2 separate regions of the Homo sapiens genome follow, and region 1 is linked to region 2. Evidence: promoter capture Hi-C in 16 types of primary human blood cells and fetal thymus (Javierre and others, 2016). All regions are on one chromosome and are shown on one strand. The core of a region is centred on a gene start or on the middle of the fragment in contact, and the rest is flanking DNA. Distances in the headings are between cores, read along the strand shown. Region 1 overlaps SDK2 (sidekick cell adhesion molecule 2). Region 2 holds the start of LINC00469 (long intergenic non-protein coding RNA 469).

What was found. Contacts are between HindIII fragments. The CHiCAGO score rates a contact against its expected background, and 5 or more counts as called.
Region 1: a fragment that was not itself captured here is called in contact with the fragment with the promoter of LINC00469 in region 2 in 1 of 17 cell types (M2 macrophages); the score reaches 5.3 in M2 macrophages.

Annotation. Positions count from the first base shown.
Region 1 is chr17:73,441,275-73,445,362 of GRCh38, forward strand. All of the region lies in intron 5 of SDK2 (sidekick cell adhesion molecule 2), which reads right to left. Among named protein-coding and RNA genes, the nearest start is that of SDK2-AS1, 70 kb to the right of the region's middle. The HindIII fragment of the contact is 8,005 bases long and covers 1-4,088 here.
Region 2 is chr17:73,826,561-73,830,251 of GRCh38, forward strand. It overlaps LINC00469 (long intergenic non-protein coding RNA 469), which reads right to left and starts at 1,977. Exons shown (of 4, transcript NR_027146.1): 1 at 1,888-1,977. RefSeq lists enhancers at 1,314-1,823, 2,814-3,315, 3,316-3,691. The HindIII fragment of the contact is 4,592 bases long and covers 1-2,511 here.

The sequences.
Region 1 (4,088 bases), core at 696-3,195, 390 kb before region 2:
TTCTGCATTGTCCACGTCCTCCACCAGAATGCAAACTCTCTGTACGAGGTCAAACAGAGTCACCGGCCCCCTCCCCCAACACACCTCCCGCCAATTCATGCCCATCTGGCACCTGTAAATGTGACCTTATTTGCATATAGGATCATTACAGGTTTGTAATTAGTTAAGGTGAGGTCATATTGGATCAGGGTGGGCTCAAGATCCAATACGACTGGTGTCCTTGTAAGAAGAGGGAAATTGAGACACAGATGCACAGCCTGGAAGACTCTGTGAAGACAGAGGCAGAGTGAAGAGATGTGGCCACAAGCCAAGGAATGCCAAGCATTGCTGGCCACCACCGGAAGCCAGGAAGGGGCAAGAAATGAGACTCCTCTAGAATCTTCAGAGAAGTATAGCCCTGCTGACACCTTGATTTTCAGACTTCTGGCCTCCAGAACTGTGAAAGGCTCAATTTCTGTTGTGAGCCACTCAGCTGGTAGTACTTTGTTGTGCAGGCCATAAGAGACTAAAATTCTCCCTGACCAGGAACCTCATGGGTCTTTGCTGTGGACTGAGCTGTGTCCCCCACCCATTCATATGTTGAGCCTTAACCTCCAAAGTGATGGCATTTGGAGGAGTCCCTTGGGAGGTGATTAGGATTAGATGAGGCCACGAGGGCCGGGCCTCATGAGGGCCAATGAGGGTCCCAAGGAAAAAGAAAAATGTTCTCTTAACATATTGTCAACTTTTGCTTAGAAAAGCATGTAATACTTTAATTCTCTCATTGAATGAAATGAAAGAGTTAAGGATGAAACTCTCAGAAAGCAGGTTTCCAGGTACTTGTTAGGTGTGTATATTTCCATATTTCAGATTCATGTCCTTATAAAAAGAGGAAGAGGCCAGAGCTGGCTCTCTCTCCGCCATGTGAGGACACGGCTGGAAGGCAGACATCTGCAAGCTGAGAAGAGAAGCTGACCATACTGGCTTCCCAATCTGGGACTTCCAGCCTCCAGGATGGTGGGAGCCAGAACATTTGCTTTGTAAGCCCCCAGCTGTGGTGCTTTGTTATGGCACCAAGAGCTGACTCATGCAGTCTTTTTTTTTTTTGGACGGAGTCTGGCTCTGTTGCCCAGGCTGGAGTGCAGTGGCACGATCTCGGCTCACCACAACCTCTGCCTCCCAGGTTCAAGTGATTCTCCTGCCTCAGCCTCCCAAGTAGCTGGGATGACAGGTGCCACCACCACGTCCGGCTAATTTTTGTATTTTTAGTAGAGACGGGGTTTCACTATGTTGGCCAGGCTGGTCTTGAACTTCTGACCTCAGATGATCCACCCGCCTCGGCCTCCCAAAGTGCTGGGATTATGGGTGTGAGCCACCACGCCTGGCCAACTCCTGCGGTCTTGACGACCACCTCTCCTCCAGCACGAAGAAGGATGCCTGGCACACAGTAAGTGCTCAAATACGTGTGTTAAGTGAACAAATGAATGGATCTAGAGTTACCATCATCCAACTCCCAGGGTCGATGATTGAAATGAACAAGAACTTCCTGTAAGTGGGTTTTATTGGAAAAAAAAAAAGAGAGAGAAACACTCCAAACTCCTCTTCTAATAGAGGTGGTAGCAATTCCTTTTTTTTATATTTTGAGTTTTTTTTTTTAAAGTAGAGGCCAGATTTTCATCTTGATGGGTCAGTGTAGGCCCGATATTGGCATAAACTCCAATATTCTGTGTATGCCTGATCCATGGCTCCTGAAAATACAACCTCTGAGGACTTTTTCTCCACAACAAATCTATCCAGTTGGCCCCTTTCCAGAAGGTTCTGGAGGTAGTAGGCCATGATGACATGCTGGGCCCTGCGGTGACAGTGACAGGCTGTTCTTTATGGGGTTAGGGGCAGGGTGCACAGTGGCCCCACTGCCCCTCTGGGCCACCTTGTCAGCCCTGGGCAGGTTTTCCTTCCTTGACTCCAGGCCTTGCTAGAAAAGGCCCAGGAAGAATGCGCATAAAATGTAAAAAATAAAGTAAAATGAAGGGGGAAAGAAAGGAAGCATATAAAGCAAAATAATTGCAACAATATAAAAGCCTCATGTAGGTGCCATAACGAGCGATCGGATTGAAAGCTGCTGATATAGCTGAATCCATAAAAGTGTGCTCTAAGTTGTTTATTACATGCGGGGGCGCGCAGGTACCACGGCTCAGATTAATGGGGCACAAGTAAGAGACAGACAGTTAGAGCCCAAGCCAGAGCGCCGCATGGCACAGCCAGGTAAACAGGGAGACCTCAAGGAAGGCGAGTTCTGAGTTTAAAAATACGAGGGCTGCCCCAGGGCTCAGGGCTGGCTCGTTGGCTCTGGAAGGAATGGAGGAGAGATGGCCATGTGCTCAGGCCCAGGTGGCAGCCTGCAGGGCTCGATGGGGGCTGAGGTGGCCAGGGATGCTGGCACAGTGAGAAAGGGTCCCAGGGGTGAGGAAGACCTGGGCTCAAAGCCTAGCTCTGCCCCCAGGTATCCTGGTGACTTCATCCTACTGAGTTTCAGTCTTCTCAGGGGGGAAATGGGGATGAAAGTCACTACCTCTCAGGGTTGTATGAATTCAGGCCCCAGCTCAACAAATCTTTCCTAGGTGAATGCTTGACACGTGCCAGGCTGTGTTCCAGGCACCAGAGATTCTCCACCAAGCGAGATGGCCAGGGTCTGTCCTCATGGAGGGTGATGTCCCAGAGGAAGTCGAACCAATGCTCGTGGGGTTAATGAATGAAAGAGCGTGTGATGGTTGCCGGGAAGGGGGCAGCTAAGCTGGTCTGGGGTGACTGCAGAGTGCCTGGTACACAGTAGGTGCTCAATAAATGACAGCCTCCCCTCCTGGAGATTTGCCTGCCTGTGCAGGGAAGAGCTCTCCCTGCTAGCCCTAGTCCAAGTGACAGACTCAGAGGCTATGGAGAGGTGGGAGTCGCAGGCTCGGGGACGCACATTAAGCCCTGCAGGGTACCGGGCAAGGCCTCAGGCATTTCATGGCGTGGCTCCCTGGGAGACAGCGGGAGTTGAGTGGGTCTCAGAGAAGTGAGTCCTGGAGCAGATTTACTGTTAATGAAGGTCACCCCAGCACAAGTGGGTTATTGGGGTAAATGGGGCTCCAAAGGCCAGACCATGAAAATCACAGGTGAGCCCGAGCAAAGAGGAGGGGTGTCTTCCCGGTGAGCTCCTGGCATAGGGTGGGCCCTGGGGTGGGAGGAAGTGTACGGGGCTCCCCACACGGGGGGCCTCACTGGATCTCACTGCCCCAGACGCTTTGCGTAACAGCCAGGACAAGGGACATCTAACGTGATCCATCCTCCCTGAATCACCTCATTGAATCCTCCCATTTTTGCCATAGGCACCAATTTACAGATGGGGAAACTGAGGCTCAGAGACCATGTGACCCACCTGTGCCACCTCATTTAGTCCTCCCAACTTTGCCATAGGCACCAGTTTACAGATGGGGAAACTGAGGCTCAGGGACCATGGGACTCGCCTGGGCCACAGGTCGGTGAGCGGTGGGGCAGGGGTGTGAGCTGCTCCCCTCTCTTGGGCAGGCTTCTGGGATGCCTGTTCTCCAGCTGCCCAGGAGCCAGGGTATCCAGGCCCTGTGACCTGAACCACCCAATGCAGGGGCCATGAGCCACACGTGCCTATGAGCTCCTGCAATGTGGCTGGTGTCCCTTTGATTTAATGTGATTTAATTTTAACTAATTTACATTTAATTAAGAATGGATCCCCAATTCAGTTATTAGAACACTTTTAAGCATGTACGGAACAACTTATGCATACGACTCTACTTTTCAGCTATAAATTTTGTGAAATCTAAATACAGATCACGTATTTCGGGTGAAAATTTCACATCCAGATTGAGATGTGATATAAGCGTAAAATACACAAGGATTTCAAAGACTTAGTATGCAAAAAACCAATGGAAGATATCCCATTAATATTCTTTACATTGATTGTATGTTAAAAAGATAACTTCTTGTTATGTTGGGTTAAATAAAATAGAGTAATAAAATGAATGTCAACGATTTCTTTTTACTTGGTAAAAAAATGGGGCTACTGGAAAATTTAAAATTTCGCATGTGGT
Region 2 (3,691 bases), core at 727-3,226:
CTCGGACTTGACAGTCTGGACACTCAAGGTGATGAGCTGCCCAGAGCACCCAAGACCCAGACTCCACCCAGGACTGTCCTCTCCTGGACCACCTGCCTGAAACTTCCATCCTGACCCTTCTCCACCTTCTCAATGGGACCTGGGGTGAGAGCCCAAGCTGGGAGCGCCGGCCTGGCATTGTGTAGTTTAGACAAGTCCTTGAAGCAGGGCAGGTGGGGGAATGGGGAGGAGTCGGGGGCTCAGGCCCCCATGTTCCTCCCCAGCACAGCCTCACCTGCTCTGCCTCAGAGTGACTCAGGACAAAATCCCCAGGTGGCTCTGATGGTACTTGAAGTGACAGAGGGAAGGAGGAATCTGGAATGGAGACCCCAGCCCCAGGCCCTTGAGCTCAACCCAGCACCAGCCCCCAGACCTGTTCACTCTTTGGCCTTCCAGGGCCAGCCCCAGGCTGGGCTGTCACTGATGTGGGTGAGCAGGAGTGGTCCCCGTTCCTCACAGGGGCTTCTCTCTATGCACACCTCACATCATCCCCCGACCTCCAGGCATAAACCAGCCTTGCAGCCCTGACTCCAGACCTGTCCAGAGAAAGTGCCACCTGCCTGGGGAGCTGATGCAGATGAGAGGGAAGGAGAGAGAGACAGTGTCCCCTGCACCATGCCCTGAACTTCCCAAGGGACCTTCATCAAGCTCCCCTGGGGGCTGTATTGTTAAAATGCACAGATTCTTGGACCTCGACTCTGGACTTCCAGAAGCGAAATCTCTGCGGGGGTGGAGGAATTGGGCACTGATTCTAATGAAGTCCCCAGGGCAATCTCACCTGCTTTAGAGCAGAGGTTGGTACCCTGGCTGCACATCAGAGTCTCATGGGAAATCTAAACACATCCGTTCCAGGGCCTCACCCCCAGACCAAGCAGACCAGTGTCAGGGCTGGACATCAGGCATTCGTATTTTGTAAAAAATGATTAAAATGTGCACCCAGGGTTGAGAACTGCTTCAGAATTTGCAGACCTCCAGCTGGGTCTGACCCAGGAAAACAGGAAACAAGAGAGATGGTGTCAGCTGGGGCCCTTCACTGGTGGGGCCAGGTGGGTGGGGGGAACATCCCCACGATCCAGGCGACCCCCACCGCTGGCCAGGCAACCTCATGGCTGAAGGCGAGGAGGGACGCAGGCACGAGGGCCTTGGCGTAAGGAAGCTGGCTCTGCAGTCAGGCCCTGCCCTGGGGCTGTTCAGATGCCCAGGAGGGCAGGTTTATGCGAATGAAGCAATTACAGAACCATTTAAAAGAGTGAGGGAACTTGGTCCAGAAATGCCTGTGGAGCTTTCAAAAGGGGTGAGTGACCTCATCCAGCCAAGAAAGGGTCTGGGAGAGAAGCTGGAGGCCGAGGTCTTCAGTCTAGGCTAGGGGAGGGGAGAGAACGTTTAAGAGGGTGGCAGGCATTCCTGTCCCAAGTCACCAACTGGGTAGCGCTCTTGTTTGTCTTATGCAAGAGTGTTTAGATAAGAACAGGCTTTTGCATTTCAAAAAGGAGCCTGTTCTTCCTCGCCTTGCTTCTTCCTGTGCTGAGTAAACGGAAGGCACACCCTTGTTTCCCTCCCTATTCACAGCTCCTCTGTCCGCCACAAAGACAACCTCCTCCCCTTCTGCCCTCGTCTTCTGCCTGTGGACATTCAAGGGACCCCGCTCCTCCTTCATCCTTTCTCTCCTGCACGAATGAATCGTTTCCCGTGAATCTGCTCTTTGAAAAACCCCTTCCTAACTTCCATCTCTCTTCCTCTGCTCTCTTTGATGCCATCGCTTCTTAAAAGGGAGGCCTAGACTCACTGCTGTCTCACTTTTGTACGTTTATTTTCATCATGGTAAAATATACATAGCATAATATTTACCATTTGAGCCCTTTTAAGGTGTACAATTCAGTGGCATTTACATTCAAAACATTGTGCAACCATCCTGATGATCTATTTCCAGAGCTTTTTTTTTTTTTTTTAAATCATCCCAAACAAATTCTGGAACTGTGAGATAATAATGTCCCATTCTTTTCTCCTCCCAGTTCCTGGTAACCTCCATTCTTTCTGTCTCTATGAATTTGCCTATTGTAGAAACCTCGTGTAAGTGACATCATTCCATATGGGGCCTTTGTGTCTGGCTTATTTCACCTAACATCATGTTGCAGCAAGGTTCATTTCATTTCTTTTTATGGCTGAATAATATTCCCTCGTACAGATGGACAGCAGGTGTTGACCTATTCATCGGTTGTCTATTCGGCCTCCACAATCCACTGTTTTCATCCCTTCTTGCTGTCTCTACTTCTATGACCCTGGCCTAAGTCACCATTTTCTTCCACCAGAGTGCTCAGTGGCCTCCTCTGAGATTTCACTCTTTTTTTTTTCTTTTAAACAGCGTTATTGAAATGTAATTCATATATTATGTAATTCTCCCATTTAAAGTGGACAATTCAGGCTACTCTGCCTATGGAGTGGCCATGCTTTTGTTTCTTTACTTCTCTAATAAGCTTGCTTTCACTTAAAAAAAAAAAGTATACAATTCAATGGTTGCTAGTATATTCCATGTAGCTGCAATCGTCACCGTGGTCCATTTTACAGCATTTGTATCACCTCAAAAAGAAGCTCTGACCCTTCAGCTATCTCCCCTCCCCAACGCTCACCCTTACAGCCCTAGGCAACTAGTAATCTACTTTCTGTCTCTAGAGATTTGCCTCTTCTGGGCATTTTGTCTAAATGGAATCATACAATCCGTGGTCTTTTGTGAATGGCTTCCTTCACTTATCGTGATGGTTCCCGGGTTCATTCATGCTGTCCTATCGGCACTTCATTCCTTTCTATGGCCAAATAACTACCTCATTGTATGGATTCATTGGTGGACATTTATGTCGTTTCTATCTTTGGGCTATTACAAATAATGCTGCTTTAAACATTTTGTACAGGTTTCTGTATGAATATATGTTTTCGTTTCTCGTGGGTCTATACAGAGGAGTGGAACTGTGGGTCACACGGTAACTCTGTGTAATCGTTTGAGGACCTGCAGGCCACAGTGGCTGTCCTGCCTCCTCTCTTGCCTCTTTCAAAACTCCTCTTCACAGAGCAGCTGATGCGATCTTTCAAAAATGAACTTCAAATCATGTTTCATCTTTCTTGTAAAATCCTTCAATGACTTCCCAGCGTTCTTAGAATAAAACAAACATCATCACCATGGTCTACAAGACCCTGTGGCTGGGCACCAACTCCTTCTGGGACCATCCCTGCCTGCCTGTAGGGCTCCCGCTCCTTTGGGCGTCCCGGCCGCTGCTCCAGCAGGCCTAGGAACTTTCTCGTGAAGTCATCTGCGCTGGCTCCTCCCTCTGCTGGAACAGTCTTCGCTCTTGTTTCAGCCTCCTGTGGACGCTGTAACCAATTGCCATCAACTGGGTGCCTTCAAACAACAGAAATGGCTTCTCTCATCATTGTGGAGGCCCAGCTCTAAAGTCAAGGTCTTGCCAGGGGCCTGTTCCCTCTGAAGGCTGTGGGAGAGCATCCTCTTTGCCTCTTCCAGCTGCAGGTGGTTACCACCAATCCTCCGGGTTCCCTGGCTTGTAGCTGCATCGCTGCAGCCTCTGCCACTGTTGTCACGAGGCCATCTCCCTCTGCGTGTCTGTGCTTTCACTGTCTTTCCTCTGTGCATGGCTGTGTCTCT